Regions from separate parts of the Homo sapiens genome. Here region 2 is linked to region 1. The links are contacts of gene promoters, found by promoter capture Hi-C in blood cells and fetal thymus (Javierre and others, 2016). All regions are on one chromosome and are shown on one strand. Each heading gives the region's core, a stretch centred on a gene start or on the middle of the fragment in contact. The rest is flanking DNA. Distances are from core to core; before and after follow the strand shown. Region 1 holds the start of MMP10 (matrix metallopeptidase 10). Region 2 has its middle 16 kb from the start of MMP13.

What was found. The method cuts DNA at HindIII sites, captures the fragments that hold promoters and counts their contacts. A CHiCAGO score of 5 or more calls a contact.
Region 2: a fragment that was not itself captured here is called in contact with the fragment with the promoter of MMP10 in region 1 in 1 of 17 cell types (endothelial precursors); the score reaches 5.1 in endothelial precursors.

Annotation. Positions count from the first base shown.
Region 1 is chr11:102,779,378-102,784,003 of GRCh38, forward strand. MMP10 (matrix metallopeptidase 10) reads right to left here and starts at 1,251. Exons shown (of 10, transcript NM_002425.3): 1 at 1,110-1,251; 2 at 127-368. The coding sequence starts at 1,214. It also overlaps the pseudogene WTAPP1. The HindIII fragment of the contact is 1,913 bases long and covers 1-1,512 here.
Region 2 is chr11:102,969,209-102,973,834 of GRCh38, forward strand. No RefSeq gene overlaps it. Among named protein-coding and RNA genes, the nearest start is that of MMP13, 16 kb to the left of the region's middle. The HindIII fragment of the contact is 1,939 bases long and covers 1,332-3,270 here.

The DNA of each region.
Region 1 (4,626 bases), core at 1-2,500:
GAAGAGGATGTTATTTTCTCCTGCCTTTATGAAAAATTGTTAAAGAAAACTTTATGTTACTTATCCAAATATGACGAGTAACTTATAAGGTTTCAATATTATGTGAAAACTAATCTGAACCATTACCTGTATGTAAGGTGGGTTTTCCTCCACTTCGGCATGCCAGGAAAGGAGCTGAAGTGACCAACGTCAGGAACTCCACACCTGGGCTTGCGCATCACCTCCAGAGTGTCAGTGTCTAGCTTCCCTGTCACCTCCAACCCAAGGAACTTCTGCATTCCTTGGATTTTTTTAACAATGAGATTACTGTCCTTTCTTCTAAACTGTTTCACATCCTTTTCGAGGTTGTAGTACTTTTCTAGGTATTGCTAATGGAAAATAGAATTTTTAGGGCATTTTTGTGATTTTCCATCATTTATCCAACTTTTATAATCCATCGTAATTTTCCTCTAGTTTCTTAAAACAAAAGAGGCTATCACATTTAATTTGATTTTTCATTAAGACTCCCCATTTCATACAAATTTTTAAATTTTATTGCAATGTTAGTTTGCTAGTCAAGTAAGGAATTGGGGATTGAAAATTCAAGTCTAGCATTATTTTTGTTAGTTTTTAAAGAAACCCTCTTTTAACATAGTTTTGTGAAAAGTTAGAATACTAACCTTTTCTACTTACATTGTTATTATAGACCTGGTTTAAGACTGAAGTGTGGTAAACTCTTTTGTCCAAATATGACAAGTAAAAATATGAAAACTATTACCTGATATGATTTAAAGATCAAACTTAGCATGCTCCCCTCCCCAATAATTTTAACTAAATAAATTCTAAAGCCAGAGGAGTTTCATATATTCTCCATATGTTCTTTTCACTTAGCCACAAATATACTGCTACTATTTTATTGTAACCTTGAGCAGTTATATTCCCTTTCTGAACCTTTCTTTTCTTCTCTGTTAACATAAAAATAATTTCCACCTCCAGCCTGTTAATTATTCTCTGATGCTACAGTTTTCTAACAAAGTGATCTCTAGTCTAATCATTCTGCTTTGTATTGGAAGACCAAGTAGACACAATTGAGCTGGCCAGTAGCTGCAATAGATGCCACCGTTAATTACCTGGGCAAGATCCTTGTTGGAGTCCTCCTCTTTTGCTGCCCCACTCAGAGGATAGGCAGAGCAGACTGGCAGACACAACAGCACAAGGAATGCAAGATGCATCATTCTCACTGCCCTTACCTTCTTTGTCTACTGGGCTTCTAGCTCTACCCCCTAGTGGCCTTTCTTTTATACAGAGACAATGCTGAGATCACCAACAGTATGATTCATGCATGTGTTTTTTAAGTCTGAATGTTCACAAACATTTAATGTAATGGTGATACAGCCTACATCAGTATTTTCCTTCAACTTTCTAAACTTGAAAGAATGATTAATCCCCAGGAAATGATTTCTGTGTTTGTAAAGACGAAAAAGAATTGGCTAGATAATTCACGTCTCTGTATTTACTTAAAGAGAGCTGACAAGCTTGGTAAAATGCCAAATGTTTTGACATTTTAAAATCAGTGCAATTTTCTTTTAAGAAGATTATGTTTTAAACTTAAATATAAGCAGGTAAGAATTAAGTAGGTCAACGGAAATAAATTCCAAATATAGTCGTGGTCTAAATGTGGGAGTTGTTATTTACAAAGATATTAAAACAAATATTTCACTTCTTGAGTCCTTGTTTACAATAGCTATTATTGATTTTCAGATGGATTTACTGGCCGTGGAGTAGGGGTATTGTGAGAAGGACATGGAGCATGTAGAGAAAAGAATCCAAAGAGAGAAGCTTTGGTGTTCACTCATTCTCCATTTCCCAGTGTATAATTATGTTCAAAGTAACTGCTCCATAAAACTTGTTAAATGGAAAAAATTAAATTGCATGTTAGACTGAAATGGTCCTCCTACCCTCTTCCTCTTCTTTGCTTTTAAAAATTCTTTTCCCCCTTTCTTTCTCCTCTTAAGGTACAAAGGAGGAGATGGATTGAGATCTGTAATGGGAAATGATTTCAAATCCTCCCTTTCTTTCACATGTCTAACGATCCACCCCTGCCCACAAATAGTATTTTCTTTCTTGTTTTCTCAGCCAAATAAAGTGCTTTTTACGCAGTAACACAGTAAGTCTGCAATAACTGTTTTGTCAAATTAACCTGTTAATATAAAGAACCCTGAAATTCTTATAGTAAAGAACTATATTTTTCTCTCACTAAAGATAAATTAACTCTACCATGTCTGAAGTACATAATTGCAAAGTGATGAGAGATTAAAATAATAAGTGTGTAGGAATGATCTTTTCAGTATCGCCCACCATCCCCACCCTACTTAAGGTAGCCTGGACAGGTGAGACTTCCAGGAACCAAGAGGCTCTGAGACTTCCAAGCCAGAGTTGGAGAGAAACTGGGATATACACTGAGCCAGCCAAGTCAACTTGTGACTTACTGTTGCCAAAGAGTTTGCTCTACAGTGTGGTGACATCAGCTTGAATATCAGAGGGAGAAGGACTGACAACTAGACTCAAATAAAGTCAGCTGGACATTGAGCAAGTACAGTCAGGCACTGTATAATGTTTCAGTCAACAATGGACCACATATATGATGGTGGTCCCATATGATTATAATGGAGCTTGATATGGTTTGGATCTGTGTCCCTGCCCAAATCTCATGTCGAACTGTCATTCCCAGTGTTGGAGGTGAAGCCTGGTGGGAGGTGATTGGATCACGGGGGCGGATTTCTCATGCCCATTTAGCACCATCCCATCGGTGATGTTCTTGTCATAGTGAGTGAGTGAGTTATCATGAGATCTGGATGTTTAAAAGTGTGTAGCACCTAGCCCCTCTCTTTCTTCTCCTGCTCTGGCCATGTAAAGTGCAGGCTCCTCTTTTGCCTTCCGCCATGATTGTAAGTTTCCTGAGGCCTCCCCAGAAGAAGGTGCCACCATGGTTCTCATATAGCCTGCAGAACCGTGAACCAATTAAATCTCTTTTCTTTATAAGTTACCCAGTCTCAGGTATTTTTGATAGCAATGCAAGAACAAACTAATACAGAGCTGATAAGCACCCATCAGCTATTGTCATTGTAGCCAACATAATGTCATAGTACAATACATTACCCATGTGTTTGTGATGATGCTGGTGTAAGCAAACCTACTGTGCTGCCATACGAAAGTCTAGCACATGCAATTGTGTACAGTACATAATTCTTGATAATAGTGATAAATGACTGTTTATGCATTTACTATACATTTTATCATTTATTTTAGAGTGTACCTTTTTTTTAAAAGTTAACTGTAAAACTGCTTCAGGCAGGTCCTTCAGAAGGCATTCCATGGTTACTGCCCTATGCAGGCATTATTATCATAGGAAACGACAGCTGCATCAGCGTTACTGCCCTGAAAGACCTTCTAGTGGAACTTGATGTGAAGGTAGAAAACAGTGATATTGATGATCCTGATCCTGTGTAGGCCTGGGCTAATTCGTGTTTTGTGTCTTCATTCTCAAAAAATAGTTTAAAAAATAAAAAAAATTAAAGATAGTAGAAAGCTTATAGGATAAGGATATCAAGAAAAAAATATTTTTGTACCTCTGTGAAACGTTTGTGTTTAACCTAAGTGTTATTACAAAAGAGTCAAAAAAAGTTTTAAATTAAAAAGTTTATAAAGTAAAAAAGTTACTACAGTAAGCTAAGGTTAATTTATATTGATGAAAGAAAAATGCTTTTATAAATTTAGTGTAGTCTAGGCATACAATGTTCATAAAGTCTACATAGTGTACAGATTCACTCACCACTCACTCACTGACTCACTTAGAGCAACTTCCAGTCTGGCAAGCTTCATTCCTGGTTAGTGCCCTATATAGTTGTACCATTTTTTATCTTTAATACCATCTTTTTATTGTATTTTTTAATGTTAAAATATGTGTAGATACAGTAATATTTATTATTATGTTACAATTGCCTCCAGTATTCAGTAGAATTTCATGCTGTATAGGTTTGTAGCCTAGGAGTAATAGGCTTGCTGGGCATGGTGGCTGACACCTCTACTCTCAGCTACTTGGAAGGCTGAGATGGGAGGATAACTTTCCCCAAGAAATTTTTAAAAGGCTATACCACATAGTCTAGGCATGTAGTAGGCTGTACCATAGAGGTTTGTGTAAGTTTAATCCATGGTGTTTGCACAATGGATAAATTGCCTAAGGACATGTTTCTTAGAATGTGTCCCCATTGTTAAGTCACACATGACTGTGTGTAATTAATTCAGGCCATTATTTTGTCATCTGTAAAATGGGGTGGATATAACCACACTCACAAAGTTATTTTGTATGCTTTATGCTGGGGAACAAATCTCTTCTTATTTCACTCCAACACCTTTAACAGACAAAGCTTGTTGGCCTGACAAATCTGTGACAATGCCCCTAGGCCCTGATTTGACAAGCTGTGAGATGCCCATTTTCGCTTGAGTCATAACTTTATTAGTGTTGACACATCCTGTTAATGGATTTTATTATGTGGTAATGATACAATGAAAGTTTACATTGTAGTAATAGCTACGACTATAATTGGGAGCCTATAGGGTAGCACATGCCTCACAGAAATGATGTTA
Region 2 (4,626 bases), core at 1,051-3,550, 190 kb after region 1:
CATTTAAGTCTTTAATCCATCTCGAATTAATTTTTGTATAAGGTGTAAGGAACGGATACAGTTTCAGCTTTCCACATATGGCTAGCCAGTTTCCCCAGCACCATTTATTAAATAGGGAATCCTTTCCCCATTTCTTGTTTTTGTCAGGTTTGTCAAAGATCAGATAGTTGTAGATATGCGGCATTATTTCTGAGGGCTCTGTTCTGTTCCATTGGTCTATATCTCTGTTTTGGTACGAGTACCACACTGTTTTGGTTACTGTAGCCTTGTAGTATAGTTTGAAGTCAGGTAGCGTGATGCCTCCAGCTTTGTTATTTTGGCTTAGATTGACTTGGCAATGTGGGGTCTCTTTTGGTTCCATATGAACTTTACGGTAGTTTTTTCCAATTCTGTGAAGAAAGTCATTGGTAGCTTGATGGGGATGGCATTGAATCTATAAATTACCTTGGGGCAGTATGGCCATTTTCACCATATTGATTCATGTAATCCAGCATATAAACAGAACCAAAGACAAAAACCACATGATTATCTCAATAGATGCAGAAAAGGCCTTTGACAAAATTCAACAACCCTTCATGCTAAAAACTCTCAATAAATTAGGTATTGATGGGACGTATCTTAAAATAATAAGAGTTATCTATGACAAACCCACAGCCAATATCATACTGAATGGACAAAAACTGGAAGCATTCCCTTTGAAAACTGGCACAAGACAGGGATGCCCTCTCTCACCACTCCTATTCAACATAGTGTTGGAAGTTCTGGCCAGGGCAATCAGGCAGGAGAAGGAAATAAAGGGTATTCAATTAGGAAAAGAGGAAGTCAAATTGTCCCTGTTTGCAGATGACATGATTGTATATCTAGAAAACCCCATCGTCTCAGCCAAAAATCTCCTTAAGCTGATAGGCAACTTCAGCAAAGTCTCAGGATACAAAATCAATGTGCAAAAATCACAAGCATTCTTATATACCAATAACAGACAAAGAGAGAGCCAAATCATGAGTGAACTCCCATTCACAATTGCTTCAAAGAGAATAAAATTTCTAGGAATCCAACTTACAAGGGATGTGAAGGACCTCTTCAAGGAGAACTACAAACCAAACCACTGCTCAGTGAAATAAAAGAGGATACAAAGAAATTTAAAGGGTATTTTAAGCCACCTAGAAATGACTTAGTAACTGAGGATTCAAGTAAGAGAGATAAAGCCTGATATGGAATACGCAGAAGTGATTTGAGGATGATATAGACTTGTAGATCCTCCAAACACCTCCAGAGATCATCAAGCTTAATTCCTTTATATTACATTGAAAAACAGTTCAAAGACATTGAGAAGCTTCCTTAAAATTGCACAAAGTGATAAACTTGGTGCTGGAATTAGAGCCTTAGCCACCTGGCTAGGATAGCCCAGAATACTCTGTATTATCCCAAACTACTTCTTAACACGTAAAGATGTGATCTGCAAAAGTGAACCCTGCCAGCTATAGCAACATTACACATTGCATAGAGAAAAAATTATGAGCGACACGTTCACCTGTGTGTCAGGATACCAGTTAGCTGCTTCATTTTCTTAGGGAAAAAAATTATACTCCACTGCGTCAGGAGTTTCACACTTTGGCTGCGTCACCAGGGCTAAAGTTTCAGCATCCAGTTGGCCATTTGATTCTAGACCAAAGAAGGCCTGCCATATGCTGGGGTCTGTTCTGCAGGAGCTTGGAGTTTCTCCTCTCCTCTGTGTTGATCTCAAAGGAAGTTGATAAAAGGCTTTCAAATATGCTAGAAAGATAGCACACAATCATCACCGTTAAATGAAAAAACTACATGCTCAATTAGGGAAACACCAACAGGAAGGACCTGTTACCTCTGCAAGATGGAATTTCACTCCACATTGGTTAGGATATCTCATTCTCTAGAAGTACATAAGGGAACTGGTAGCAGCCAGCAGACAATGAGATTCCAGAGCACAAAGGCAATTTTCTCTGCCACTCGGTGGTCTGCAGATACCTTCATTTGGAGGTGAGTGTTTGGAGGGTGATAATTTGGGCATCTGCCTCACTGAGATGCTTTTATAGGGTTAAAGGGGTTGGCACAAGATTCATTTCTTATCCTTACTTTATTGGCACTACTTTTTGTTCAAGTACAGAGCAAGTATAACACACTCTTTTATCCAAAGTAAAAGTTTTTATAGGTAAAAACAAAGGCTTCATTCCTTGGTTAATGTCCTTAAATGTAGAATGTAAGTTTTGCCTTTTTGAGGATTTCATCTGTAAAATTGACTAGCAGCAGGCAGCTTGTAATTTGTCCCTTGACATGGAAGGAAGAAAGACAGGGAGGAAGAGAAGGGAGGAGGGAGGGAGAGAGGAATGGAGGAAGGGAGAGAGCAAAGGAGGGAGGGAGGGGAGGAATAGAAAAAGAAAGAGGAAGGGAGCAAGGGAGACGGGTGAGGAAGGAAGTGACATTTATTAGGAAGTCACTGACGGGCCAGGCACTGTCCTTGTGTTTTCACTCTTATTTACTTCAGTGAGTCTGTCCCAGACACCTAGATACGGATATGTGCAGAACTAGACAGGGCTATAAGACTAGGCAGAATTTCCCCCAAAGAGTCATGACCCAAGGGCCTTTGCTATGAGTTTGCCTCAGTGTGGGAACCCATCTAATTACCTTGCTGCCAGGACCATTTTAATCATTAGTCTAATCCCAAATGGGATAATATAATCCAGATGTAGGAATTCAGTCATTGCCTGGTAAAGCATCATTGAGGATTTGTGTTAAAATTTTTCAAAACCAAAATTATTTCCCAACTTTCCAAAACATTGGCAAACAGAAATGATTAGGCAGATTGGACTCCCTCTTGTACAAATATGCAAGTTGATGAATCTGATCAAGCAAGGGGTAGAATTTGATCCATCCTTCCTCCAGGGGGAAATGCTTTACACATTTTGGAAAGTCCTACACCTGTCAGTTTGTGCTGACTTCAGAGTGCTTTCAGCTTGAAGATGTTAGAACATTGCATAACTGGTAGAAATTGAGACATTTATGTTAATTTTCATTTGCTCCCAGGGTATTTTGTCATATCCAAATTAAATTAATGACTTTGAATCTGTTTGCTCTACCATTACTCATTTTCTAGAAAATCCAGTCACTTGATGGGGTTTGAGGCACATCACAATCCAAAAACTAAAATGAAGCCCCTCGGAACTTAAGCACTAACTCAAGAAATGGGTCCCAGAAACCGCTGGTGACCAAAGATAGTTTCCCAATGAGATCTAAGTAAGCTTATTCATTTTCAACCTATTTTCTGTTGTCCCAAGTGGTGGGACATGTGCACATGTCTTTGAACTGCACAGGGCACCAGCTGTCGTTCTACCTCTTTCTCTCTAAGAAAACATACTAGAAAGGAGTGAGAGTGACTTTATAAAAACAAAACAAAACAAAACAAAAAACTAGAATCTGAAATGAATGTTAAAATGTAAATTACTAAGATAAGTCAGCACTTTGTTATTATTTATCATAACTAAACTTACACAATTAGTGGAGACACTTTATTGAATTATGATAGCAGATTAGAAGATTTTCCAAAAATGTAAAGCATGAACATGGTAGTATTGAAATTAATACAGAAAACTCGATGTACTAAATATTCATCTGTAGATGAACTAAAGACTACGAAAGTGAACATAAAGTACTTTCTTTGAAAGCAAAACTACAGTGAAAAAATTGCAATCCCAGCTGGGATAGGTTAATTTAAAAGATACCTGTGCCAGGCATGGTGGCTTATGCCTGTAATCACAGATAGCAATTTGAGACCAGCTTCAGCAACATAGCAAGACCCAGTCTCAACTAAAATAAATAAATAGAGATGTCTTCAAAGTTATGAAATAAATAGTGGTGTTATTTTAAGCTCAGAGTATCAGAGGAAACTATCTGGAGTCAGCTTATAGCTATCTCCTCAATTGTTCCCAAACTGGTATAGAATCAGAAAGAGCTGTTTCAGCACTGGAAAGTTTATCAGTTTTCATGACTCAGGAATAAAATCTTTGAATTGATTTGTTTTTTAAAATAAGCATTTAAAAATAATCTAACAATATTATTTTATTTTAATTTTTTATAACTGATTCCATTTTCTTCATGTTATACTTTTCTTATTTTAATAATACCTTTTAACAAGTAATTTTAAGAAATATATTACATATTTAACAAATGTAGAAAGATAGATAATACACATTTAACAAATTATTGAGAAAGATAATACATATTTAACAAATGTTTGTAAATTTGATATTCTATAATGCACTCATATTTTTTATTTGCAATGCATTAACTACTGAATTTCAGTGATTTTTTTTAATGTTATAAACCCTGAAAGTGTTTTTAAAAGTAAAAGACCAGGACAGGGCGCAAAGGTGCATGCCTGTAATCCTAGCACTTTGGGAGGCCAAGATGGGCAGATCACTTGAGGCCAGGAGTTCAAGACCAGTGTGTCCAACATTGTGAAACCCCATCTCTACTAAAACTTCAAAAATTAGCTGGGTGTCATGGTGGATGCCTGTAGTCCCAGCTACTCGGGAGACAGAGGCAGGAGAATCACTTGAACCTGGGAGGCAGAGGTTGCAATGAGCCGAGATCATG